Regions from separate parts of the Homo sapiens genome. Here regions 1, 2 and 4 are each linked to region 3. The links are contacts of gene promoters, found by promoter capture Hi-C in blood cells and fetal thymus (Javierre and others, 2016). All regions are on one chromosome and are shown on one strand. Each heading gives the region's core, a stretch centred on a gene start or on the middle of the fragment in contact. The rest is flanking DNA. Distances are from core to core; before and after follow the strand shown.

Region 1 (7,037 bases), core at 3,800-6,299, 280 kb before region 3:
ATTTGGTTCAAACTGTAGAAAACAATAAAAATTGGCCGGGCGCGGTGGCTCACGCCTGTAATCCCAGCACTTTGGGAGGCCGAGGCGGGCGGATCACAAGGTTAGGAGATCGAGACCATCTTGGCTAACACGGTGAAATCCCATCTCTACTAAAAATACAAAAAATTAGCCGGGCGCGGTGGCGGGCGTCTGTAATCCCAGCTACTCGGGAGGCTGAGGCAGGAGAATGGCATGAACCCGGGAGGTGGAGCTTGCAGTGAGCCGAGATAGCGCCACTGCAGTCCGGCCTGGGCGAAAGAGCGAGACTCCGTCTCTAAAAAAAGAAAAGAAAAGAAAAGAAAACAATAAAAATTGAAAAAATATTAGGCAAGACTAGAATCTAACAACAGGTGTACTATAGTTTTAAAACATAATTTTTCTCTCTCCAGTTTCCCATTTTTACTAAAGACAAATCATGGTAGGACTGGTTTGCTTTATTACACTTGGCATAATTATTTGTATACAGTGCAGCAAGAATAATCATTTTTTTAATGTAGGCTTTTAAATTGGCTTTGATGGAACTTGTTCCATAGGAGGATTCTCAGATAAGACTTTTTAAAGCCGAACCCAGTCATGGATTACAGGCATGAGCCACTGCACTCGGCCGCTTTTTGAGAAACTTTTACTATAATGGATTATAAAAATAACCACTTTAAGGACAGTATCAATAATTTAATTTTATTATTATTTTTTTGCCCCACCCCCTCTGCCTCTTAATTATTTATTTATTTATTTTTTGAGAGGGAGTCTCGCTCTGTCGCGAGGCTGGAGTTCAGTAGCGCAATCTCAGCTCACTGCAACCTCTGCCTCCCAGGTTCAAGTGATTCTCCTGCCTCAGCCTCCTGAGTAGCTGAGACTACAGGTGCACGCCACCATGACCAGCTAATTTTTGTATTTTTAGTAGAGACAGGGTTTCACCATGTTGGCCAGGCTGGTCTCAAACTCCTGACTTCAAGTGGATCTGCCTTCCTTGGCCTCCCAAAGTGCTGGGATTACAGGCATGAGTCACCAAGCCTGGCCAATTTATTTTTTTCTCCCCTTAATTTGAAATGCTACAGAATGAAAGATTTGTTTGTTTGTTTGTTTGTTTATTTATTGAGATGGAGTCTTGCTGTGTTGCCGAGGCTGGAGTGCAGTGGCGCGATCTTGGCTCACTGCAACATCCGCTTCCTTGGTTCAAGCAATTCTCTGCCTCAGCCTCCCGAGTAGCTGGGATTACAGGCGCTGCCACCACACCCAGCTAATTTTTGTATTTTTAGTAGAGACGGGGTTTCACCATCTTGGCCAGGCTGGTCTTGAACTCCTGACCTCGTGATCTGCCTGCCTCGGCCTCCCAAAGTGCTGGGATTACAGGCATGAGCTACCACGCCTGGCCTTGGCATTTTTATTTTATTTATTTTGAGACAGGGTCTTGCTCTGTCACCCAGGCTGGAGTGCAGTGGCACTATCTCGGCTCACTGCAAGCTCCGCCTCCCAGGTTCATGCCATTCTCCTTCCTCAGCCTCCTGAGTAGCCGGGACTACAGGCACCACCACCACGCCTGGCTGATTTTTGTATTTTTAGTAAAGACGGGGTCTCACCATGTTAGCCAGGATGGTCTCGATCTCCTGACCTCGCGATCCACCTGCCTTGGCCTCCCAAAGTGCTGGGATTACAGGCGTGAGCCATTGCTTCTGGCCTTGTTTATTTTTTATTTTTATTTTTTTAAATTGAGACACAGCCCAGGCTGAAGTGGTGAGATCTCGGGTCACTGCAACCTTTGCTTCCTGGGTTCAAGTGATTCTCCTGCCTCAGCCTCCCAAGTAGCTGGGATTACAGGCACTAAGTCCCTATGCTGCACACAGCACAGGAACCCTTGGCCCAGCCCACAAAACTAATTTTTCCTCCTAGGCCTCTTGGCCTGTGATGGGAAGGGATGCTGTGAAGACTTCTGACATGCACTGGAGACATTTTCCCCATTGTCTTGGGGATTAACATTCGGGTCCTCATTACTCATGCAAATTTCTGCAGCCAGCTTGAATTTCTCCTCAGAAAATGGGATTTTTTTTTCTATCGCATTGTCAGGCTGCACATTTTCCAAGCTTTTATGCCCTGTTTCCCTTTTAAAACTGAATGCCGGCTGGGCGCGGTGGCTCACGCCTGTAATACCAGCACTTTGGGAGGCTGAGGTGGGCAGATCACGAGGTCAGGAGATCGAGACCATCCTGGCTAACACGGTGAAACCCTGTCTCTACTAAAAAATACAAAAAATTAGCCGGGCGTGGTGGTGGGCGCCTGTAGTCCCAGCTACTCGGGAGGCTGAGGCAGGAGAATGTGTGAACCTGGGAGGTGGAGCTTGCAGTGAGCCGAGATTGTGCTACTGCACTCCAGCCTGGGCAACAGAGCAAGACTCCGTCTGAAAAAAAAAAACAAAACCAAAACTGAATGCCTTTAACAGCACCCAAGTCACCTCTTGAATGCTTTGCTACTTAGAAACTTTTTTCCACCGGATACCCTAAATCATCTCTCTCAAGTTCAAAGTTCCATAAATCTCTAGGGCAGGGGCAAAATGCTGCCAGTCTCTTTGCTAAAACATAACAAGAGTCACCTTTGCTCCAGTTCCCAACAAGTTCCTCATCTCCATCTGAGACCACCTCAGTCTGGACCTTATTGTTCATATCACTATCAACATTTTTTTTTTTTTGAGACGGAGTTTCGCTCTTGTTGCCCATGCTGGAATGCAATGGTGTGATCTTGGCTCACCACAACCTCCACCTCCTAGGTAAGTGATTCTTCTGCCTCAGCCTCCCGGGTAGCTGAGATTACAGGCATGCACCACCACGCCTGGCTAATTTTGTATTTTTAGTAGAGAAGGGGTTTCTCCATGTTGGTCAGGCTGGTCTTGAACTCCCGATGTCAGGTCATCTGCCCGCCTCGGCCCCCCAAAGTGTTGGGATTACAGGTGTGAGCCACCATGCCTGACCCATTATCAGCATTTTTGTCAAAGCCACTCAACAAGTCTCTAGGAAGTTCCAATCTTTTCCACATTTTTCTCTCTTCTTCTGAGCCCTCTAAATAGTTTCAGCCTCTCCCTGTTACCCAGTTCTGAAGTTGCTTCCACATTTTCAGGTATCTTTTCAGCAACACTCCACTCCTGGTACTAATTTACTGTATTAGTCCATTTTCATGCTGCTGATAAAGACATACCTGAAGCTGGGCAATTTACAAAAGAAAGAAGTTTAATGGGCTTACAGTTCCACATGGCTGGGAGGCCGCACAATCACAGTAGAAAGACAAGGAGGAGCAAGTTACAACTTACGTGGATGGCAGTAGGCAAAAAGAGAACTTGTGCTGAGAAACTCCCATTTTTAAAACCATCAGATCTTTTGAGACCCATTCACTATCACCAGAACAGCACAGGAAAGACCCACCCCCATGATTCAGTCATCTCCCACTGGGTCCCTCCCACATCTTATTGGAGCTACAAGATGAGATCTGGGTGGGGACACAGAGCCAAACATATCACTGCATGTTCTCACTTATAAGTGGGAGGTAAATGATGAGAACACATTGGCACAAAGAGGGGAACAACAGACACTGGAGCCTACTGGAGGGTGGAAGATGGGAGGAGAGAGAGGATCAGAAAAAATAACTAATACTAGACTTTATACTTGGGTGAAGAAATAATCTGTACAACAAACCGCTGTGACAAGTACAAATTTGCTTATATAACAAACCTGCACATGTACCCCTGAACTTAAAAGGTAAAAAACAAACAAATGAAATCAACCCAATAGTTCCAGAGACTATTGTTTTGGATAAACATAAAAATTTATCTTTCTGGTCTTAAAGCTTGAAACTTATATTTGCTTTATTTGAGTTCCTTCATTAGTAAATGACCTTCAGGCTTCTCCCCCGCAAAAAAAAAGTATCAATGAACTGAAACTCACCAGATCACTACATCCAGACAATGAGACTTTGGACCCCTCATTCATCATGATTACTTCCTTGGCCCTCCCTACTTCCTGTTTTCTTACACATTACATTTCTTCCCCTCTGTATAAAACCCTTGTTTTAGTTGATCAGGGAGATGGATTTGAGGTTTTGAGCTCCCATCTTCTCAGCTGCAGCACCCGATTAAAGCCTTCTTCCTTGGCAATACTTGTCATCTCAGTCATTGGCTTTCTGTGCAGCGAGCTGTAGGACCTAGACTGAACCCCTGATGTTTCAATAACATATTTTGGTTCCCTGACTGGGAACATGTTGCTTGTGGCTCAGCTGCCATGGGTGGAGTCTCAGAAGCCCTCTTATGCAGCTGCCTGACAAATTTTATTTTATTTTATTATTTTATTTTATTTCCTTTGAGATGGAGTCTCACAGTGTCACCCAGGCTGTAGTGCAGTGGCACAATCTTGGCTCACTGCAACCTCTGCCTCCCAGTGCTATAGGAGTCAGAAGAAATCACTTGGGCAGATAGCCAGGGTACGGGAATCCTCAGTAAGGCTTTTCTTTTTCTTTTTTAATGAAAAGCTGCCCCAAATCATTTTCTAACAAAGAGCAGCCTGAAACCTGGGAGTTTGCAAGGGTGAATGCCAGCAGGAACTAAGGAGTAGACATGTTCAAGATAGCGACTTCATCTTCCCTTCTCTGCCAGTCATGTGTACTGTAAGGAGCAGACCAGATGGTGTCGATCACCTCGCCTCTACTAAAAATATAAAAATTAGCTGGGCGTGGTGGTGGGCGCCTATAGTCCCAGCTGCTCAGGCGGCTGAGGCAGGAGAATTGCTTGAACCGGGGAGTCAGAAGTTGCAGCGAGCTGAGATCGCACCATTGCACTCCAGCCTGGATAACGAGAGCAAAACTCTGTCTCAAAAAAAAAAAAAAAAAAAAAGAAAAAGAAAAAAAAAACAGATGGTGTCGATCAACTGGAAAGGCCATTTGCGTAACAAGATTAGGGTGGGGCAACCAGCCTTTCCTGAGCACTATGTAAACGTCATAGCTGATCAAACCAATCTGTGAGCCCTATGTAAATCAAGACACATTAAAACAGTCCACACTAAATCAGACACTGCCTCCTCAAACTGGTGTCTTCACTACCAGCCAGTCCTTTCCATTCGGAGACCTCTTCTTCTATAGAGGAAGCTATTTCTCTTTTCTCTTCTACCTATTAAACCTCTGCTCCTAAACCCCTTGTGTGTGTCTGTGTCCTAAATTTTCCTGGCCTGTGACAATGATAAATATATACCTGAGGGCATATACCCCAGACAATGTAGCCACTTCACCAGGTTCAAGTTATTCTCCTGCCTCAGCCTCCCCAGTAGCTGGACTACAGGCATGCACCATGCCCATCTATTGACCAATATCAGCTGGAAGTGAGTTTCAGTTTCTCTCTGGCCCCACCATGGTCAGCCCCAACCATCCTCCTGATTGCCTTGGAAGAATAGCCTTCGAAATTGGACATCTGCATCCAGATAGGTGAGTATCCTTTGTGGGCCCAGACAGCAGGATTTGCTCCTCTCAATTTGGGAAATTTTTAAAAGAATTTTCATTTGCAGGTTGAACAAGCCCAACTGACTGAGGGAGGGAAACACCCTGACTGTTTTTATGTGGACACTCTTGGGGGCTAGTTTATAATTGTATGTTGTGTCTGGGCAAGTGAGTGCCTCGTGTGTGTACCAGACAGCGGGATCAGTTCCTCTCAATTTGGGAAATTTCCTAAGGAATTTTTGTTTGCATTTGATCAAGCCCAACCAATGAAGAGAGGAAGCACCCTGACTGTTTGAGTTTGGACACTCTTGGGGCTTGTTTTTTGCTGCAGCAGTTGGATTGTGTTTTGGTGATCATTTGTGTGTGTTTTATATAGTCATGAGAAGTTAGAATTCGGTAAACTGATATTCATTTGCAATACTGTTGGCCCCAGTGTTGTTTGGAATCTGGCGTTTGCTGTTTGGAATCTGGAGTTTGCTGCTGAATGGGAAAGTGGGATGGAGTTGTGTGTATCCAGGCTTTTGTGCTGCTGTTCTAAGCAAGGTTGGGCCTGGCAGGTATGTGATGTTCTCCTTTGTTGCTGTTTGACCCCAATGTTCTTTGGAGTCTGAGGAGGTTTGGCCTTTAAAAATCAAACTGCCATGGAAACTACTATACCCAAAATTTTGATTCACAGCCTTCACTGAATTACCTACTGGGACAAAGTGTAACCATGTAAAACCAGTAAGCTTGTATTGCTATCTCATAGCTATAGTTCCAAGGTAAAAGCTATTGGATCTTTGTTTATGTGTGTATATTCATGTTTAGATGTGTTTATTTGTATGTACCCTTATTGGTATATGTTGTGTCTACCAAATTGGCTTATAAGTAAAACAGCACTCATAAATTAAATAAGTCAAAGCAATTTTCAAGTTCGTGTGAGTTAAGTAAATTTTTTCGAAACCAGCTGGCTGTAAAATTATTGGTAAAATGAAAATAAAAATGTCTTCAAAATTGTGAGCATACATTTTTGTCTGGATTTTATATTTGTCTCTGGTAGATATTTTGAGGTTTCAGGGTTTGGCATAGAAGGTTATAAAATTATAAACCCAGCCAAAACAAATGATCTTCATGAAAATTTTTTGAAAAGTAGTATTACGGGATCACTGGATGTCAATTTTTCTGGCCAGAAACCTCTGTGGCCAGTGGTGCTTTGCCTGAGTTCTTGTCCTGCGTTCAGGAAGAATGAGGTACTCAGGCAAGTGAACCAGACAAAGAGGAGCTTTATTTAGTATTAGAGCAGCTCAGGGGAGACGCACAGTGGGTAGCTCCTTTCTGTTACTCGTTGTCCCAACGTCTGCTGCTCTCAGCAGAGAGGAGGCCCTGGAGAGGACAGCTCCTGTCTGCTACTGGTCATCTTGACGTATGCTGCCCTCAGCAGAGAGGAGGCCCTGGAGAGGATGGCTCCTCTCTGAAGCTGGTCCACGCAATGTCTCTTCTGGTCTCTGAAGCTCTTAGCAGAGAGGGTAGCTCCTTTCTGCCAGCTGGCCATC
Region 2 (6,589 bases), core at 3,849-6,348, 260 kb before region 3:
TAATTTTTTGTATTTTTTAGTAGAGATAGGGTTTCACCGTGTTAGCCAGGATGGTCTCAATTTCCTGACCTTGTGATCCACCTGCCTCGGCTTCCCAAAGTGCTGGGATTACAGGCATGAACCACCGTGCCCAGCCGAATTTTAGTTTTTAAGATTAGTTTGGTAATATGCTTTTTGAGAGTTTGATTCATTCTTTCTACGTTTCCAGAGGAAGGGGGATGCCAAAGGGTGTGATAATCCCATGTAATTTGTAAACCTTCCGTAATTCCCCTTAATACCCTTGAGGTAAAATGGCTCCCATTGTCTGAATCAGTATTTTCTACCAAGCCAAATCGGGGTATAATCTGCTCTAAGATTATTTTGATCACATTCGTGGCAGTAGCTGTTGGAAGGGGAAAGGCTTCCACCCTGCTGGAAAGGTAATCTGCTATCACCAGCAAATACTTTAGTTTTCCTACTTCAGGCATTTCTGTGAAATCTACTTGAATGCTCTGGAATGGTCTCAGTCTGGGAGGTCTTCCTCCTGTGGCCTGTTTTCTAATTACCTTTTTGTTTGTCCTTTGACAAGTTACACAACTTCCACATATTTGTTTAGTGAGGGTGTGGATCCAGTTATTCCTAGGTATTCCATCACACAGAGCCTGGGGTTCCCAATGACTCCCTTTGCGTAATATAGACATTAGTTCTGTCATCAGGGGTTTACTTATCATTTCTCTCCCATCAGGAAGTACCCATTTCCCATCTTTAGTTCGAGTGACCCTCTATCCTGTCTAATTCTTCTTTCTTCTCTCTGGTAAGCTGGGGTCTTCATACTACCTTAGGGATGTCTGGGATCAGGCTAAATAGTCTAATTTCTTTCTCCAGGGAGGCTTGCTTAGCAGTTTCATCTGCAAGCCTGTTTTCTGCAGCTTCTATAGTGTTTCCTTTCTGATGACCATTTACTTTTATTTTTATTTATTTATTTATTTATTTATTTATTTTTGAGATGGAGTCTCTCTCTTGTCTCCCAGGCTGAAGTGCAATGGCGTGATCTCAGCTCACTGCAACCTCCACCTCCCAGGTTCAAGTGATTCTCCTGCCTCAGTCTCCTGAGTAGCTGGGATTACAGACACCTGCCACCAAGCCTGGCTAATTTTTGTATTTTTAGTAGAGACAGAGTTTTGCCATGTTGGCCAGGCTGGTCTCGAACTCCTGACCTCAGGTGATCCACCCACCTCGGCCTCCCAAAGTACTGGGATTACAGGTGTGAGCCACCACGCCCAGCCTGTCTGATGACCATTTATATGAACTATGGTTACTTCTGCTGGAAGAAGGAGGTTTCTAAAACCTGTCTGACCAGTTCCCCAAGTACCAATTCTTTTCCCTTGCTATTTATTAGGCCCTGCTCTGTCCAGATTTTTCCAAAACTGTGTACCACCCCATAGGCATATTTAGAATCAGTATATATAGTGCCTTCTTGGCCTTCAAGGAGCTTTATGGCCTGGTTAAGAGCATATAATTCACAAGTTTGGGCTGACCAGCCATTAGGTAATCTACCTTCCTCACATAAGGAGTGTTTATTTTTATTAATGACAGCATGACTGTTATGTTTCTTGGCATCTATCACTCTGGATGACACATCCACAAACAGGCTTATCCTACCATGTAGGGGAGCTTCTCTAAGGTCTGGGCTAACTTTGATTTGGTATTCTATGATATCTAAGGCAGTTATGGACTGATGCCTCTTTGTTCTTCTCTCCTTTCCATAAGAAACTGGCTGGATTCAGGCAAGTATCTGTTGTTATGACCAAATCATCTTTTTCTAGTAACATGGCTTCATATTTTAGAATCCAAGAATCCATTAACCATCTCTTGGCTTTTTGATTTAATATATTCCTGACCCGATGTGGGGTGCTCACTGTTAGGCCCCAGCAAAGGTTAACTTTTGACTCTCATCTGCCAGCAGGGCTGTGGCAGCTACTACTTGCACACATTTGGGCTATCCTCAAGAGACAGGATTGAGAAGCTTGGAGACAAAAGCAACAGGTTGCCTCTTCCCTCCCCAGGTTTGAGTGAGCACCCCAAGAGCCACACCCTGGTCTACTGTTACAAATAGATGGAATGGTTTCTCTAAAGATGGGAGGGCCAGGACCGGGGCTGTAAGGAGGGCCTGCTTTAGCTCTTTTGTGTCTGGAATTGGTGGGTTCTTGATTTCACTGACTTCAAGAATGAAGCCGCAGACCCTTGCGGTGAGTGTTATAGTTCTTAAAGCCAGAGTGTCTGGAGTTTGTTCATTCTGATGTTTGGATGTGTTTGGAGTTTCTTCCTTCTGGTGGGTTCGTGGTCTCGCTGGCTCAGGAGTGAAGCTGCAGACCTTCACAGTGAGTGTTACAGTTCACAAAGGCAGTGCGGACCCAAAGAGTGAGCAGCAGCAAGATTTATTGCAAAGAGCAAAAGAACAAAGCCTCCACAGTGTGAAAGGAGACCCGAGCAGGTTGCCACTGCTGGCTGGGGCAGCCTGCTTTTATTTCCTTATCTGGCCCCACCTACATCCTGCTGATTGGTGCATTTTGACAGGGTGCTGATTGGTGTGTTTACAATCCCTGAGCTAGACACAAAAGTTCTCCAAGTCCCCACAGAGCACTGGTTGGTGCATTTACAAACCTTGAGCTAGACACAGGGTGCTGACTGGTGTGTTTACAAACCTTGAGCTAGACACAGAGTGCTATTGGTGTATTTACAATCCCTTAGCTAGACATAAAGATTCTCCAAGTCCCCACCAGATTAGCTAGACACAGGGTGCTGATTGGTGTGTTTACAAACCTTGAGCTAGGCACAGAGTCCTGATTGGTGTATTTACAATCCCTTAGCTAGACATAAAGATTCTCCAAGTCCCCACCAGATTAGCTAGACACAGGGTACTGATTGGCGCATTTACAATCCTCTAGCTAGACATAAAAGTTCTCCAAGTCCCCACCAGATTAGGTAGGTACAGAGCACTGATTGGTGCATTTACAAACCTTTAGCTAGACACAGAGTGCTGATTCGTGCGTTTACAATCCTTTAGCTAGATGTAAAAGTTCTCCAAGTCCCCACCAGATTAGCTAGATACAGAGTGCTAATTGGTGCATCCACGAACTCTGAGCCAGACACAGAGTGCTGATTGGTGCATATACAATCCTCCTGCTAGACATAAAAGTTCTCCAAGTCCCCACCCGACTCAGGAGCCCAGCTGGCTTTGCCTAGTGGATCCCTCGCCGGGGCAGCGGGTGTACGCCTGCATTCCTCAGCCCTTGGGCGGTCGATGGGACCAGGCACTGTGGAGCAGGGGGTGGCACCTGTCGGGGAGGCTCAGGCCATGCGGGAGACTACTGCAGGGTGGGGGCTCGGGCATGACGGGCTGCCATTCCTGAGCCCTGCCTTGCGGGGAGGCGGCTGAGGCCCAGAGAGAATTTGAGCATGGCACAGGCGGGCTAGCAGTGCTGGGGGACCCGGCGCCCCCTCTGCAGCTGCTGGCCCAGGTGCTAAGCCCCTCACTGCCTGGGGCCGGCGGCGCTGGCCGGCCGCTCGGAGTGCGGGGCCTGCCAAGCCTGTGCCCACCTGGAACTCGCCCTGGCCCGTGAGTGCCACATGCAGCCCCGGTTCCCGCCCATGCCTCTCCCTCCACACCTCCCTGCAAGCAGAGGGAGCTGGCTTCGGCCTCGGCCAGCCCAGAGAGGGGCTCCCATAGTGCAGCTGCAGGCTGAAGGGCTCCTCAAGCACGGCCAGTGAGGCCGAGGAGGTGCTGAGAGCCAGCGAGGGCTGCGAGGGCTGCCAGCACGCTGTCACCTCTCACTTTCACTGCCTGAATTTCCTCTGGGGACTACTGCAAAGGATCAGGTTCCTCTTCTTGTGACTTGAGATACAGGATCTTTGTCTTTTGAGCACATGAGTCAATCCATAACCTCCAGTAGCCAGTTAAACCTAAAAATTTTCAGAGTTCTTTCTTTGTCTTAGGCAGAAGCCCACTATTCCTGGTATTCTTTCTGGGTTTATTCTCCACCTCCCTTCATTAATCAGGTATCCTAAATATTTAACTTATTTTTCTACAAACTGCAATTTGTTCTTAGAGATTTGCAACCCCCTTTCTCCTAGGGAATTAAGCAAGCTTATGGTGGTTTCTGATACTTTGGTCTTCCTCTCCCTAGAAATTAAAAGATCATCTACATATTGTAATAACTGGTTTCCCCTGGAAGGTTGGAATTCCTTCAGGACTTTTTCTAAGATTTGACCAAATAAGTTTGAGGCATCTGTGAAGCCTTGTGGCAGCACAGTCCAGCAGTACTGTTGTTTTCTGCCAGTTATGGGATTTTCCCATTCAAAGGCAAAGAGATCCCTACTCCTAAAGTCTAGGGGACATCTTTTCTTTCCTGCTCCTCTGTTAGGAGGCCCATCATTACTTTTATTTGTCCTTCCTCTATTCCTAATCCTAAACCCAATCTCACAATCAGGTCTCAACTCAGGAGGTTAGTTGCCTGCTTCAGGAACATATAAGAGTGACCCCTCTATTTGTTCTGGTCCTAATCTAATTACCATTTTCTTGAATATCAGAACCTGAAATCCCTCCCCTTTTACCCCTGATACTGTCAATTTTTCCTTCGAGTCCTGTACCCCTTGGTTGATTAATTAGGAAGGAGAGAGACAGCCCAGTATCAAGCAAAAATGTTACTTCTTCCCCATCGGGTCCCACCCTCAAATTTATCAAGAGTTCCTGGTGGGACCTACTTACAAGGAACCCCTGACTCCCTAATCTTCATCAAAAGTCATACAGTGGATTACTTCTCTTCCTTTTTCCATTCTGGACATTCTCTTTTAAAATGTCCTGGTTTTCCACACTTGTAACATCCACTTACAGTCTTAGGAGTTTTTCCTTGTATTTCTCTTCTGTCTTTTTGCTGAAACCTAGTATTTTCTTGTCTCCTCTGAGAGGGGTCTTGATCTAACTTCTTCCTGACTACCTCCTCTGCAGTGGAAACCATTATTTTCGCTTTTTGTTTCTGTTTCTCCTCTTCTCTTCTCACAAAGATCTTTTTGAGCTTCCCTCAGTAATTCCTCAATTGATTTTTCATTCCAACCATCAATCTTCTGTAATTTTTTTGTAATGTCAGGCTAGCTCTTAGTTACAAAGTTAACATTCAAAAGGCCTTGCCCTACTGGGGCCTCCAGATCTAATCCAGAGTATTTTCTCATCTGATCTCTGAGCCTCTGCAGGAATGCAGAGGGAGTTTCCTCTTTTTCTTGTTGAATCTTTGAGACATTTGAGACATTTTGTGTCCTAGAAGTCAATTATTTGATCCCTTTAATTATTAGTTCCCTGAGGTCCTGCATTTGGGCCTGGTCCCTGGGATCATTATTATCCCATTCGGGATTGACATTTGGAAATTTTTTGTTTGGCTGGCAAGACTCCTTTCCTCGGAGGATGTTGCCTCTTCCAGATGGTCATTGCCACCCTCCTAATCATTCCTCTTTCTTCTCCTGTGAATAAGATATTCATGATAGGCATTATTTCAGTCCAGGTATAAAAGCTGGTCCTAGGAATTGGTACAACTTGTCTGCTAAATGAAGGGGATCCTCTAGGAGTGGTTTCATTACCTTCTTGAAATTCCTAACTTCAGTACTTGTAAGAGGAGCGTTTACAAAGCCAATCTCTTTCTGTCCTGTGGGAACTTCCCTAAGAGGGAACATGCTAGATGTTTGCTGTTTGGAGGGGATAGGGAAGTTCTCAATATCTCTTTTACATTATTCTAATTCTTTTCTTAAATTTGGATAAGGGTCTAAAGGAGCAGTTGGTTCAGCTCCCCCATGGTCTCCAGGTCTTTCTTTCTCTAACTCTCCTGCTGCCCCTTGATCTCCCTGTCCCCTATTTTGTGAGACATATGGAGGGGGCTCCCATGATAGGGGGTCCCAGGGCTTTTCACTGGGCAAGGGCTTTTTACTAGGCTCTTTTTCTTCTTCTTTGAGGGGGGAACATGGGGGCTAATTCCTTGATCCCACAGACAGCATAACCTATCTTCTCCTGTGCAGATGGGGTTTTATCATTCACATAGAGAATTAAAGCTTGGCACACCCAATCCTCATCTGAGCCAACCTTAGGCCAAAAGACTGAAGGCTTATGAATGGGGTCTTTGGGTCAGGTAAAACAGCAATACTTTATCAACTTTTGCTTTTCCTTGTCCCTGGCTGCAGGGTTGTCCCTCCAAACCTGCAACATTCATTCACCCCAAAGGACTATCTGGGGGAATGTCAGAGGGAGTCTCTTTGGCTCCCTCTTTCCTTTGTCCCTAGGCCTAGAATTTCTGTTTCCCATTTTTGGCCAGTCTCTGTGTCTGGGCCTTTCCCTATGTACTCAACCCTCCTACTGGAGGTTTCTTGCACACCCTGAGAATCGCTTCATCTGTTTCCTGCCGATTCCCTCGCAGGAGAACGGAACTGTGGATTGGGACTCCGTGCTTGCTTCGTATCTAGGGTATGTCTCAGTCACACACACTCAACCTCCAAAAATGCCCAACCACCAAGGTGGTACTTACAGTCTGGTTTTCCTACCTTGGCTCATGCACAAGGTTGCCTGGTT
Region 3 (6,648 bases), core at 1,149-3,648:
TCTTTTTTTTTTTTTTTTAGCCAGAGTCTCACTCTGTCGCTAGGCTGGAGTGCAGTGGTGCAATCTTGGCTCACTGCAAATTCCGATTCCCTGGATCAAGCAGTTCTCCTCCCTCAGCCTCCTGAGTAGCTGGGATTACAGGCACACGCTACCACGCCCAGCTAATTTTAGTATTTTAGTAGAGATGGGGTTTCACTATGTTGGCCAGGATGGTCTCGATCTCCTGACCTCGTGATCCAACCACCTCAGCCTCCCAAAGTGCTGGGATTACAGGTGTGAGCCACCTTGCCTGGCTGTGAGGGACCAAAGGTCTTTTCTCCTGGGTCACATCCAGCTCTGGCCCCTGCCAGCCCTCCCCATTTCCATTTCCCCACTGGATACCCAGGGAGGGCTAAGTAAAGACTCGGGTTTGCTTTGAAATAAAAGCACATGCTGGCCACAGATAGAAAGGCGGGGAGACTCCTTTAGCAAATGTATGGAGATCCCAGTGTGCCGGACCCCAGGCTGAATGCTGGGTTTTCTGTTCTCACAGCCAGGAAAGCACAGATGGAGGTAAGAGGTGAGGAGAGGGACAAAATGATCACCTGTCTTCTACTCATGAGGCTTTCTGGATCAGGAGGAGTTTCAGCAGTTGTCTAAGTCTAGAAGAGAGATGGTTGTATGTATGTGTGTGCGTGTATGTGTGGCTTGGGGTGACATGGGAAGTGTGAAGGGTGTCCGAAAGAGAGAGATTGGGAAGGAGGGAAATGAGACAGGTTAGTGGGAGATGGATTCTGGGGGCAAGGTTCATGGCATCCCTGGGGGCTCCTCAGGAACTGGTTGAATAATCTGTAGCCCCTGGACACTAGGCGTCTACATTGGACCATTTGCTGTGGTTGTTAGGAGGAGGACAACATTCCTGTTGCAGGAAGTTAGCCGACAACCATCAATGAAGGTCATAAGGATGAGCAGTTCACAAAGCTCCTACACCCTTGTTTCTCATTTAATGTCTGAAAAATCCCTGTAAAGCATAAAACAGACTCACAAAAGGAGGGTCCCAGCCAGGTGCAGTGACTCACGCTTATCATTCCAGCACTTTGGGAGGCTGAAGCGGGAGGGTCCCTTGAGCCCAGGAGTTCAAGACCAGCCTGGGTAACATAGTGAGACTCCATCTCTACAAATAATTCTAGAAATTAGCCAGGCATGGTGGAGTGAGGTGGTGGTCCCAGCAACTTGGGAGGCTAAGGTGAGAGGATCATCTGAGCCAGGGAGGTGGAGGTTACAGTGAGCTGAGATCATGCCACCACTGCACTCTAGCCTGAGCAACAGAGCAAGACCCTGTTTCAAAAAATAATAATAAAGAAGTCCCTTAGCAAAGAAGTGTTGGAGCTAGGGGTTGAGTTCCAAGTCCCCCATAAGGCAAAGGCCACAGGCTTTTTGCCCTGTGTCCCAAGGTAGGGGAACCAGGCAGAGCTGGAATGTGTGCTGTTTGCTTGCCCAAAAACCTATCCAGGCTTACAGGCCAATTGGGAGAAAACATAAAACATCCTCCACAGCCTACATTGAGCCAAACAAAACTTGATTTTGAGGGATTGTGCAGGTGTGGGAAGAGGAAAGACTCTTGTTATGGGAGTCAGGATAGCGGGTTCCACCTCGACTGGGCCCTTGCTGTTTGCGTGTCATTGAATCTCTCTGAAATGCAGTTTCTTCACATATAAAATGTGGATAAAAGCGCCTACCTCCTAGGAATGATGTGAGGACTCAACAAGAGAATGCACGTGTTGTTCTGAATGTAGTACGGTGCACATAGCAAGCACTCAGTACTCCTTAGGTTTTATTATTGCCGTTATTAATACAAAGAGGTTGTGCTGCATGGTTGCTCATTCAGGCCCTGGTGGCTGTTTCCCACCTTCAGCCCTGGCTCCTGTGGCTAGAGCCCTGGTGCCCACAGCTCAACCTGGACCTGTCCACCCTTGAAGGGCTCATGATGCAGCATCAGGGAGTCCCAGATCGAGCCGCTGACACCTCCAAGTCGGCTGCAGCTGTGCATCCGCTCAGACCACAAGACTCAATGGAGGATGCTGACCTCTCTTTGTTCTCCCAACGAGTACTAGGCAAGGAGGGAAGGAAGGTGAGCGCTTAGAAAAAACGTGTTGGTTTCAACTGAAATGACATTAAGCTATCGTGGAGGTAAAGGAGAGGGGTTGAGCCGGTCAGGAATCCAGGCAACCTGACCCTATTTGCCAGTGTCCGCTTTTAATTTTGGTCGCTAAGGGCAAGCGCCCGTGACAAACATGGCGGCGGCAGCCTCAGGCGCAGTCACCTGCCGGAGCTGCGCCCGGGGGCCGCGCGGAGCCAATCGCTGGGCGGGGGCGGAGGGAGAGGCTGGGGAAGCCCTAGAAGTGCGCGCAGGCGCATTGGCTCGCACCTGGCTCCCGCCAGCCGTGGGATTAGGCTTCGCCGGCTACGATTGCGGTGAGACGCTGGCCAGCGGCCGGGGCTCGCGGGCAGGAGCGGGCTGGGCTGGGGCCGATCTGGCACAAACGACAGACCCGAGGGGGAGGGGAATGCTTTGCGCTCTGGGAGTCATGGGGGCTATCTGCGGGGGTCTTTGGGGTGATCATATTGTGGATTGGGAGAGTTGTGTGGTCCGGGCGGAAGAAGCGGGGTTCAAGGGGGCAAGGGTGGAATCCTCGCAGAAAGGCTCTCCGGGGGTCTGGAGGAAAGGGATGCAGTGGGTCAAATAGCTCCCTGGTGGTCTGGGATCGAGGGATGCACTGGTCAGGTCGGGATCCGTGCCATTAGCATAAAGGCATTTAACCCTGGTGGCACTTGGGGAGCTTTGAAAAACACCGATGCTGGGCCCGCCCGAAGAGATTCCGATTTAACTGTTCTGGGTGAGGCCTGGGCCTCGGTATTATTGCACAGCTCCTCAGGTGATTTTAACGTGCAGGCGGTGGGGAGCAGCCCTACACGTGTTTCAGCACCAGCTATTGAGTGAAGAGCTCCTGGGCTGATCCCAAACTCCTCAGTGGCTTGGGAGGGGTGGGTGGTCCTGAGGTGAAGCTGTCGCCTCTTCTGGGACCTGTGGGGGAGGGAGAGGGAGAAGGTCCCCATCTCAACAAGTTGAAAGCTCATTTCCAGCCGGAGGAGGAGGATGGGCCCCCACCCCCCAACCCTGGTGCTAGACCCTGCTGTGGGGAGACTGGGCAGGAAGACAAGACCCCGAGAGTGAAACAGGAAACACAGCAGACAATTCAGGGGTCAGCTGCCTGTTGAGAAAAGGGCACATATTATACCTTTCATGTTCATTTGTTCATTTGGTATTCCTGAGGATAGGCAGAGAATGGAATTGTTTTCTCTGCTTCACAGATGTAGGAATAGACTCAGATAGTAAGTTAAAGATAATGTTCACACCTGACCCAGGGCTCCTGACTCCAAATTATGCCTCTTCTTAGCTTTTACCTCTGCACTAATGTCTCTTGTACAGTCTGATACCTCTCACTCCAGGGGCCCAGTTCGGCATTCTTGGTTTCCGCCACTAAATTCATCAACCTCCCCCACCCACCATAGGTTGGTTCAGAAATCAGGGAGATGTTGCTGCTTCCATCCCTTTCTAGTCTTTACCTACCAGGGGCCTGGTAGGGTGAAGGGGAAGAGTTTTGACACCTGCTAGAGGGCTTCTTCCAAACAGATCTGTCACTTCCCCACCCCCAGCGCCCCACCTGTTGTCCTCAGCATAGAATCTTGCACAAGGTTTACAAAACCCTTCCTGATGTGGCCCCTTTCTCCCGCGCTGCTCTGAGCTCTCTTCCCAGATTGTTTCTGTGTCTCTTAGCACAGTGCTGTGCACCCGGCGAAAGCTTAATAAATGTTCCTCTGTTATGATCACTATTCTTCTTTGTACCTGCTGCCTTGCTTTAGTGTCTTACTCAGAGAGGCACATCAAGCCTCCCAGGCTGCCCCTTCTCTCTGACTCCCACAGTTAAGCAGAACACAGAGCTAGGAGGGGCACAGTGGGGTCTGAAGATGACAGTTTTCCTATGACTGCTGCTGCTGTTCCCTAGGGCTGAGGATGTTGTTGATATTGACCTTTTAGGGGCCAATCGACCCAGCAGGGATTGACTGAGCAAGCTGAGGGAGCCTGGTGGAGGCAAAGGGCAGGGATCAAGGGCGGGACTAACCCAGCCCTGCTTTTTTTTTTTTTTTTTTTAAGAGACGGAGTCTCACTCTGTCCTCCAGGCTGGAGTGCAGTGGCGCGATTTCGGCTCACTGCAAGCTCCTCCTCCCGGGTTCACGCTATTCTGCCTCAGCCTCCCGAGTAAGCTGGTACTACAGGCGTGCCCGCCACCACGCCTGGCTAATTTTTGTATTTTTAGTAGAGAGGAGGTTTCATCGTGTTAGCCAGGATGATCTCGATCTCCTGACCTCGTGATTCGCCCGCGTCGGCCTCCCCAAGTGCTGGGATTACAGGCGTGAGCCACCGCGCCCGGTATCAGCCCTGCTTTTAAGAAGCCTGTGGGCTGGAGGAGGGGAAGGGAGGCATTTGGATGCCTGATAAGGGGGAAAACGGGAGAGAACACGTGATTGGGTGTGCTTGGGAAAGCCGTGACACTGGATGAGCAGGATTTGATAAGATGGGGGCAGGGTGTGGGGGGGATGATGAAGTGAGAACGCTGTTGTTTTAGTCAAAACCTGTTTTGAATCTTGACTCCAGCACCTACTAGCTTTGTAACTTGGGCCTGTTATTTAATCTTCAGAGCCTTGGTTTCTTCATGTACAGAACGTGAATGCAGATAGTAACAGAGCTGTAAGGGGTCTGATGATGGATATAAAAGCCAAGCATACCCTGTATGGCTGAGGAATAGTATATAGTTATCCTAGGGTATCTTAGGTGACAGGAACAGCATGAACAAAAGTGTGGAGGTGGCATTTAGAAAGGAATTTGATGGATGGCAGACAAGAGGGGCTAGGATATTCCAGGTGGCAAAAGGCATAAAGCTTGGGTGCTGGAAAGACAATTTCAATCATGGATTTGGCAGAAAGGTCAATGATTTTTATTTTTGATTGATGTTGCCCCAGCTGGTCTCTAACTTCTGGCCCCAAGTAATCCTTCTGTCTTGGCCTTCCCAAGTCCTAAAATTACAGGCATGAGCCACAACGCCCCACCTAGTGACTGATCTTTAAAGATCATGAAACCACACGGTGGCTCTCGCCTGTGAGCCAGCACTTCAGGAGGCCAAGGCGGGCGGATTGCTTGAGGTCAGGAGTTCAAGACCAGCCTGGCCAACGTGGCGAAACCCCGTCTGTACAAAAAATACAAAAATTAGCCAGGCATGGTGGCGCACGCCTGTGATCCCAACCATTTGGGAGGCTGAGGCAGGAAAATTTCTTGAACCTGGGAGGCGGAGGTTGCAGTGAGCCAAGATCCCACCACTGCACTCTAGCCTGGGCGACAGAGTGAGACTCCGTCTCAAAAAAAAAAAAATCATGAAACCAAACTTCAAAGAAATGGAAAGAAAATGGCTACTGTAGGCCGGGCGCAGTGGCTCATGCCTGTAATCCCAGCAGTTTGGGAGGCCAAGGTGGGTGGATCACAAGGTCAGGAGTTCAAGACTAACCTGACCAACATGGTGAAACCCTGTCTCTACTAAAAATACAAAAATTAGCTGGGCGTGGTGGTGCATGCCTGTAATCCCAGCTACTCGGGTGGCTGAAGCAGGAGAATTGCTTGAACCTGGGAGGCAGAGGTTGCAGTAAGCCGAGATTGTGCCACTGCACTCCAGCCTGGGCAACAGAGCGAGACTCTGTCTCAAAAAAAAAAAAAAAAGAGGAAAAAGAAAAAGAAAATGGCTACTGTGGGCCAGGCATAGTGGCTCACACCTGTAATCCCAACACTTTGGGAGGCCGAGGCAGGTAAATCACTTGAGGTCAGGAGTTCAAGACCAGCCTGGCCAATATGGTGAAACCCCAGTTCTATGAAAAATACAAAAATTAGGCCGGGTGTGGAGGCTCATGGCTGCAATCCCAGTACTTTGGGAGGCCGAGGCAGGCGGATCACAAGGTCAGGAGTTTGAGACCAGCCTGACCAATATGGTGAAACCCCGTCTCTACTAAATATACAAAAAAAAAATTTGCCGAGTGTGGTGGCGTGCGCCTGTAAATCCCAGCTACTCAGGAGGCTGAGGCAGGAGAATGGCTTGAACCCAGGAGGCAGAGGTTGCAGTGAGCCTAGATTGCGCCACTGCACTCCAGCCTGGGCGACAGAGCAAGACTCCATCTCTACAAAAAGAAAAAAAATTAGCCGAGTGTGGTGGCAGGCGCCTGTAATCCCAGCTACTGAGGAGACTGAGGAAGGAGAATTGCTTGAACCCAGGAGGCGGAGGTTGCAGTGAGCTGAGATTGAGCCACTGCACTCCAGCCTGCGTGACAGAGCGAGACTCTATCTTTAAAAAAAAAAAAATAGCTGCTGTGTATTGAGGGTCTTCCACGTAGCAGGCACTTGGCTTTAAATTCCTTTTGCATTTCAGCCCACAGCCATCTAAGAGGTTGACATTAACATCCCCACTTTGTGGGCGAGGAGCCTGAGGCTCAGGGAGAGGGAGTGACTGGCTCAAGGCCACCAGCTGGGACCATGAGGGTGGGTCTTGGAAGGTGCCAGGGAGGTGG
Region 4 (6,672 bases), core at 3,503-6,002, 320 kb before region 3:
TCCAGGGTGCAAGTGGGTCTCGCCGCACGGCTCTCTGGGATTCGTAGTCTTGCAGTGTCATTCGGGAGTTGTAGTTCCTTTCCCACAATCGGCTGGGCGAGGCGGCGCCAGCGATCAGAGCAGCGCTGGGTGTTCAGGGGCCAAGATGGCGGCGCGCCGGGGACGGAGAGACGGAGTCGCGCCGCCCCCGAGTGGGGGCCCCGGTCCGGACCCTGGCGGGGGAGCCCGCGGCAGTGGTTGGGGAAGTCGAAGCCAAGCGCCGTATGGGACTTTGGGCGCTGTGAGCGGCGGCGAGCAGGTGAGAGGTTGGCTGGCGGCCCGCGACAGGCAGCAAAGCGGTGTGTGCCGGGCGGTGACACGTGGACGCCACAGGAAAGAGAGGAAGCGCCTGAGAGTCGATGCCGGGTGGCCGCGGGAGCCGGGCCGGAGCAAGTGGGCCCTAGGCCGTTTGCTGGGGGTAGGCGGGCAGAGGCAGCGTCTCTACGGCCATTCCTGGGGGACGCCGGAGGGGGAGAGCGGGGTGTCGGAAACATAACCCGCGGCTGGGGGTCAGGGGTTCGGACTTGGGGTCGAAGGCTGAGACCTCCATGTAAGGATGCCCAGTGAGGCTCCCCGAGCCCGGCGCCGCAGTTCCCTTTTCGGAGCCACGTGGGGTTGGGGGAGCAATTTTCCCGGGAGAACTTGTCTGCCTCCCCTCCCCCTCTAGGCGGCCCGGGCATCCACGTGGGTCGGGCTCCTGGTGGAGGGGGGCGCAGGCAGCGGGTCCACGTGGGGGCGGGGAAGGAACGTCCACGTGGCTCCCGTCCCAGGCTGTCGGGCATCTAGTATCGGCCTTGGAGCCTGGCTGACGCGAACTGGGTGTGTCTCCACGGGTCCCGCCATCTCCTGCCGGGGCTGGAGGCCCGGGCCGGGAAGGAAGGTAAGGGCTGCTAGAGTCAACTTTGTTCAGAGCCTTGGAGGTTTTTTTTTTCCCTGCTGCTTGGGTCCGCAACGTCTCTCCACTGCGGATGGTGAAGGACTCTCCAGATGTTGCGGGAGTTTGTTCCCTGCGGATGGCTGAGTGTGATGGGGAGGGTAGAGGGCTGAGGCTGAAGGGTTGTGGAGGAGTGAGTTTGTGGCGCTTCCGTCTGACCGGCTTGGGGTGGGTTGTGAGTCACGGGCATTGGCGTTTTGGTTGCCTTGCAGTCTTGCCTTATTAGTGATTCAAGGGGTATGGGGAGTGTCAACATACACCTGGGACAAGGTTAAGAAAGGGAAAGGGAATCCTCTCCTCACTTTTTCCTCCAGCATCTCTTTTGGGAAGGCATGCTCCTGTAATCTGACACGCAGAAACTGGGGTGGTCCGTACTTAAGGCTCTTCGGATTTTTTGCTGGGGATGGGAAAAGTTGGAGGCGGTTTGAGAACTGTTCAACATGTTCAACAGTTGAACATACACTGGATGAGGAGGATTCTGTTAGATATTTTTTTCTTGGCCTTCAAAAAGTGTTATTGTTCTACTCTACAGTGGAGGGCTTCTTAAAAGTTTCCACCCAGGGTAGAAGGGGCAGGAATTAGTTTGAACTGTTACCTCTCTTAAACAATTAAGCTGAGTCCTTGACAGCATTTTTTGTGTGTTACTAGGTGGGAGTTGGGCTGCAGGCTGCCTGGTAATATCAGGTCCGGCAGACCAATCCAGGCCCTTGCCCAGGGGAGAATGGTTTCTGGGGCAAGAATTTGGGAGCGCTGATCCCTTCTCCCCTACTTTCTCAGAGGTCACATCTTTTGGGGCTGGTGCTGCCTACCTACCAGAGCCCCAGGGTCTAGGCCAGAATCTCAAGGCAATGCCCAGCTCTCTATGAACCATTCATCTTCACCTCCATCAGGTGTCCAGTCAGAGACACACCCTCACACCTGACCTCACCCATCACTGAATTCCCAAATAGCACAGGGAGAGTCAGGAAGGATCCAAGATCCAGCTATAATAGTTAAGTAGTAATTTGGGATTGGAGAGGATCTCATGGAGAGATTGTCATTCCCTTCCCCCGAAAACCAAAGATGGGTATATGTGAGCTGGTCAGTCAGCCAGTTATTTATTGAAATACCATTATGTTTAGGCACAGGGGACAAACTGGTAAACCACATAAACATGGTCTTTATCCCTCAGGATCTATGTTTTAATCAGGATAGACCGATGATAAATAATAATGAATGAGACAAAAGTGCAGGATATTTGGGATTATGTAATTGGCAGTAGTGATCTACTTTGCAGAGTCTGAGACGGGACATTTAAAGCTGAGATGTTAAAACTGTGGAAAACCTTTAATCAGGGAAAAGTGAAGCCCTCAAGGAGGAAGAGAGCATGGCTTATTGGAGAAACCGAGACCTGTACTACAGAGTAGTGGGAGAGGACACGCTGGAGCAGAGGTCTGGTGGGGAAGACAGGACTTTTGTAAGCTATATATATATATATTTTGTTGTTTTGTTGTTGTTTTTGAAATGGAGTCTTGCTTTGTCACCCAGGTTGGAGTGCAGTGGTGTGATCTTGGCTCACTGCAACCTCCATCTCCTGGGTTCATGCAATTCCCCTGCCTCAGACTCCTGAGTAGCAGGGATTACAGGCAAGCACCACCACACATGGCTAATTTTTGTATTTTTAGTAGAGACAGGGTTTCACCATATTGGTCAGGCTGGTCTTGAACTCCTGACCTCAAGTGATCCACCCACCTCAGCCTCCCAAAGTGCTGGGATTACAGGCGTGAGCCACCACACCCGGCCTGTAAGCTATATTAAAGAGTTTAAACCTAATGCTAAGAGCAGTAAAATGCCATTGAAGGGATTTAGGGAGGGTCTCAGGCAGTGATCAGATACATATTTAAAAAGTTTCTGACTGTTTTTGAACCCTGGAGGGAGCAGGTTTGGTGGGTGAAAGCTACTTGGGAGGTTTTTGAAGTTAGAGGTGCTGATGGCTGGCTTACTTTCAGCCTGGGCTTAGCACTCGGATGATCTTGGTACTCTGGGAGCTGTGCTGTTTGGGAATTGAGTGATGGGTGAGGTCAGGTGTGAGGGTGTGTCTCTGACTGGACACCTGATGGAGGTGAAGATGAGTGGTTCATAGAGAGCTGGGCATTGTCTTGAGATTCCAGCTTAGTCGCTGGGGCTCTGGTAGGTAGGTGGTGGCAGAGCAAATGGAGTTGCAGCCTCTTGGCTCACCCTGGAGTGTTTGCAGAGCCAGGTGCTATTCAGCTGCTGGTTTGTAATTATAGGATTGTGAAGGCCTGGGAGGAGTTAGTGCCTAAAACCTACCACTTTTTGCTTATTCTCTGGGCCTGGCCTCCTAACGCGTCCTTAACCAGCCTTTCCTTTTCCTGGGCGTTGGTACTCAGCTCTGTTAGGAGGGTATATATTGCCGGGGTGTGGGGGGTGGGGGTGTGGAAGACACCTGTTGCTTTTTTCTTTTGGAAGTGGTGCGGAATTTCACTTTGTTGCAGAAGAGGAAAGGGAAGGTCTGGCCTGTCTGTATGTGATCCTGTTCTCAGGCCTTTTTACTTCATGTTTCCTATGCGGTAGTTTCCCCTTATCCACAGTTTCTGTTAACCTGCTGTCAACTGGGGTCTAAAAATACATGAGTACAGTACAGTGAGATATTCTGAGAGCCAGAGAGCCCACATTCGCATAACTTTTATTATAGTATATTGTTTTAATCTATTTTATTATTAATTTCTTATTGTGCTTAATTTATAAGTTAAACTTCATCGTTGGTATGTATTGTTTGTATCAATACATACCAATGTATTGGTAGTATCTGTGGTTTCAGGCATCTACTGGGGATCTTGGAATGTATCCCTCTAGGATAAGGGGGGACTACTGTAGTGGAGATCCCCCTGGCTCTGGCCTCACCACTACCATTCTGGTCCCTTCCGGCCCTGCCCACACCCACACTCTTGACAGGTCTGGGCGGGCTGCTTGATGCCTGACACGAGAGGCCGTAAATGCTGCTAGTTCTTAGAGGAGTGTGGGGCGGGGCCTTTCCATCTAGGGAATCAAGCTTTCTCTTCACTTGCTCTCATCTGGTAGGAGTGGAGAAGAGGCCCTTCCCTTGGAATTACCATTGAGAGGTTGAGTGTCTCACTGTTGGGCCTTCAAAATAAGTGTCGGCCGGGCGTGGCGGCTCACGCCTGTAATCACAGCACTTTCAGAGGCTGAGTCGGGCGGATTACTTGAGATTTGGAGTTTGAGACCAGCCTGGCCAATAAGGTGAAACCCTGTCTCTACTAAAAATACAAAAATTAGCTGGGCGTGGTGGTGGGCGCCTATAATCCCAGCTGCTCCGGAGGCTGAGGCAGGAGAATCGCTTGAACCCAGGAGACCGAACCCATGAGTGTCATGGGGATGGGGGTAGGGGGTGGGGTGTGATTACCAGAAAAGTTAATGCTGCAGAAAAGTCTGTGATTTTAGAGTTGTGAGGAGAGATCACCGTGGGCTGGGGAAGCTGGGGTGTCTTCTTGAAGAAGGTAGGATTTGCACTAAGCAGAGAACTAAATGGGATTTGAGGTAGGTGAGGTTGTTGGAGCTGAAGCTGTCTCCTTGCTGACCTCTTTTGCTTTGGTGTGCCCCTCAGACTGTTATCTTCACTGCTGCCAGTAGATGATTCTGAACAATCTTGATTTTCCTGATGTTTTTACTCCCGGGTTTTAATCTGTGACTCTAGCTGTTTCTGGTTGGAGCCCAAACATTTTTCTGCCCCAGAAGGTCCCTGAAAACTGCCATCCTTATTGGGGTTTTTGCTCATAGGTTGTGCTTCTCTCTGCTCTGCTAGCCCAGAAGTTTGGCGACAGTGTTGCTGCTGCTGAGTTTGGCCCCAGCAGTGGAGGGTACCTGATTTATGGAGCATATTATCAGCTGCTGCCAGAGAGCTCATACCCTTCTCACCTTCTTCTCTGCTCCAGGTGCTGCTGCATGAGGAGGCGGGTGATTCTGGCTTTGTCAGTCTCTCTCGGCTGGGCCCATCTCTGAGGGACAAGGACCTGGAAATGGAGGAGCTAATGCTGCAGGATGAGACACTGCTGGGGACCATGCAGAGCTACATGGATGCCTCCCTTATCTCCCTCATTGAGGATTTTGGGAGCCTTGGAGAGGTGAGCTGGGGCTGGACTCTGAAATCTTCAAGCAGGAGGTTTACATGGGAGGTTCTAGCTCAAATTCTTGGCATGGCTCTGCTCTCCCAGGACCTTAGCTTCTTCCTGGGTGCCCAACCTGAATCCTTGAAGTGTATTTTTTGTCTCTAAGTGGGAATTAGGCTGCAGGCTGCCAGATTATGTCCCATGTAAGAATTCCTTTCCTAGCTTAGACTATAGTCCAAGGCCTTTCCCACTGTCTGGGCCCCTGAACTACATGTCCAGAGGATTCTGATCTCTGTTTTTCAGCTCATTTCTAGCCTAGCCGATGGTTGTCTGCTGAGCATCCCACATCTTATCTGAGGGTAGGGGAATGTGTGAAACCCAAGCTTGAGTCAAGTCTGACAGGTCTCTGTTGACACCAAGAGCTGGTGGATGGTAGCTGAGATTGGAATCCATGCCTTCTGGTATTCAGATCCTTCTCGCTGCCCCATTAGCTGAGTTGAACCTGGGAGACTGATTCTCTCGATATCCAGTCCTTAGTGGCATAGTAGGTCATTAGGGATGTTGGTAGGACCTTCTGGTTGTTTTTCTGGAGCAGAGCAGGTTATCTCTGGAGGACCAGAATGAAGTGTCGCTGCTCACGGCTCTGACGGAGATCTTGGACAATGCAGATTCTGAGAACCTTTCTCCATTTGACAGCATTCCTGATTCGGAGCTGCTTGTGTCACCCCGGGAGGGCTCCTCTGTGAGTGTGGGACCAGGGGAAGGGGATTAGTACAAAGTTTAGACCCATGCCTGTGGACCTACTCATATAGCTCTGAAGCATAGACTGATCTCAGGTCTTTCTTTCCCTCTTAGCTGCACAAGCTGCTTACTCTCTCTCGGACACCCCCAGAACGTGACCTCATCACCCCAGTTGACCCACTGGGGCCCAGTACAGGCAGCAGTAGAGGGAGTGGGGTAAGCCTGACCTAGAGGGTTTCAGAAACTCCCAGGTGGGAGGAGGAGTGTGTGGGGACAGGTCTGGAAAATACTTTCCCAAAGAAAACTCCTCCTGAGACCTCTCTTCTCTCCTGCAGGTTGAAATGTCTCTTCCAGATCCCTCTTGGGACTTCTCCCCACCCTCTTTCTTAGAGACCTCTTCCCCCAAGCTTCCTAGCTGGAGACCCCCAAGATCAAGACCACGCTGGGGCCAATCCCCACCTCCCCAGCAGCGCAGTGATGGAGAAGAAGAGGAGGAGGTGGCCAGCTTCAGTGGCCAGATTCTTGCCGGGGAGCTTGACAACTGTGTGAGCAGTATCCCGGACTTCCCCATGCATTTGGCCTGCCCTGAGGAGGAAGATAAAGCAACAGCAGCAGAGATGGCAGTGCCAGCAGCTGGTGATGAGAGCATCTCCTCCCTGAGTGAGCTGGTGCGGGCCATGCACCCATACTGCCTGCCCAACCTCACCCACCTGGCATCACTTGAGGATGAGCTTCAGGAGCAGCCAGATGATTTGACACTGCCTGAGGGCTGCGTAGTGCTGGAGATTGTGGGGCAGGCAGCCACAGCTGGCGATGACCTGGAGATCCCAG

Evidence for each region. Contacts are between HindIII fragments. The CHiCAGO score rates a contact against its expected background, and 5 or more counts as called.
Region 1: a contact is called between a fragment that was not itself captured here and the fragment with the promoter of SLC68A1 in region 3, in 2 of 17 cell types (endothelial precursors and erythroblasts). The highest score is 7.2, in endothelial precursors.
Region 2: a fragment that was not itself captured here is called in contact with the fragment with the promoter of SLC68A1 in region 3 in 1 of 17 cell types (endothelial precursors); the score reaches 5.2 in endothelial precursors.
Region 4: a contact is called between a fragment that was not itself captured here and the fragment with the promoter of SLC68A1 in region 3, in 2 of 17 cell types (activated CD4 T cells and endothelial precursors). The highest score is 6.2, in activated CD4 T cells.

What each region holds. Positions count from the first base shown.
Region 1 is chr10:102,181,319-102,188,355 of GRCh38, forward strand. No RefSeq gene overlaps it. Among named protein-coding and RNA genes, the nearest start is that of NOLC1, 32 kb to the left of the region's middle. The HindIII fragment of the contact is 2,363 bases long and covers 3,869-6,231 here.
Region 2 is chr10:102,197,612-102,204,200 of GRCh38, forward strand. No RefSeq gene overlaps it. Among named protein-coding and RNA genes, the nearest start is that of ELOVL3, 25 kb to the right of the region's middle. The HindIII fragment of the contact is 1,949 bases long and covers 4,125-6,073 here.
Region 3 is chr10:102,458,997-102,465,644 of GRCh38, forward strand. SLC68A1 (solute carrier family 68 member 1) reads left to right here and starts at 2,399. Exons shown (of 10, transcript NM_024789.4): 1 at 2,399-2,454. It overlaps LOC124902493 (a long non-coding RNA gene), which reads right to left. Exons shown (of 3, transcript XR_007062270.1): 3 at 1,797-3,064. RefSeq lists enhancers at 1,918-1,987, 2,115-2,798, 2,799-3,481 and a silencer at 2,258-2,477. The HindIII fragment of the contact is 5,189 bases long and covers 1-3,840 here.
Region 4 is chr10:102,132,924-102,139,595 of GRCh38, forward strand. It overlaps PPRC1 (PPARG related coactivator 1), which reads left to right and starts at 117. Exons shown (of 14, transcript NM_015062.5): 1 at 117-298; 2 at 4,927-5,115; 3 at 5,696-5,842; 4 at 5,956-6,057; 5 at 6,177-6,672. The coding sequence starts at 146. RefSeq lists enhancers at 1-219, 5,315-6,514 and silencers at 200-379, 590-639, 670-789. The HindIII fragment of the contact is 1,458 bases long and covers 4,024-5,481 here.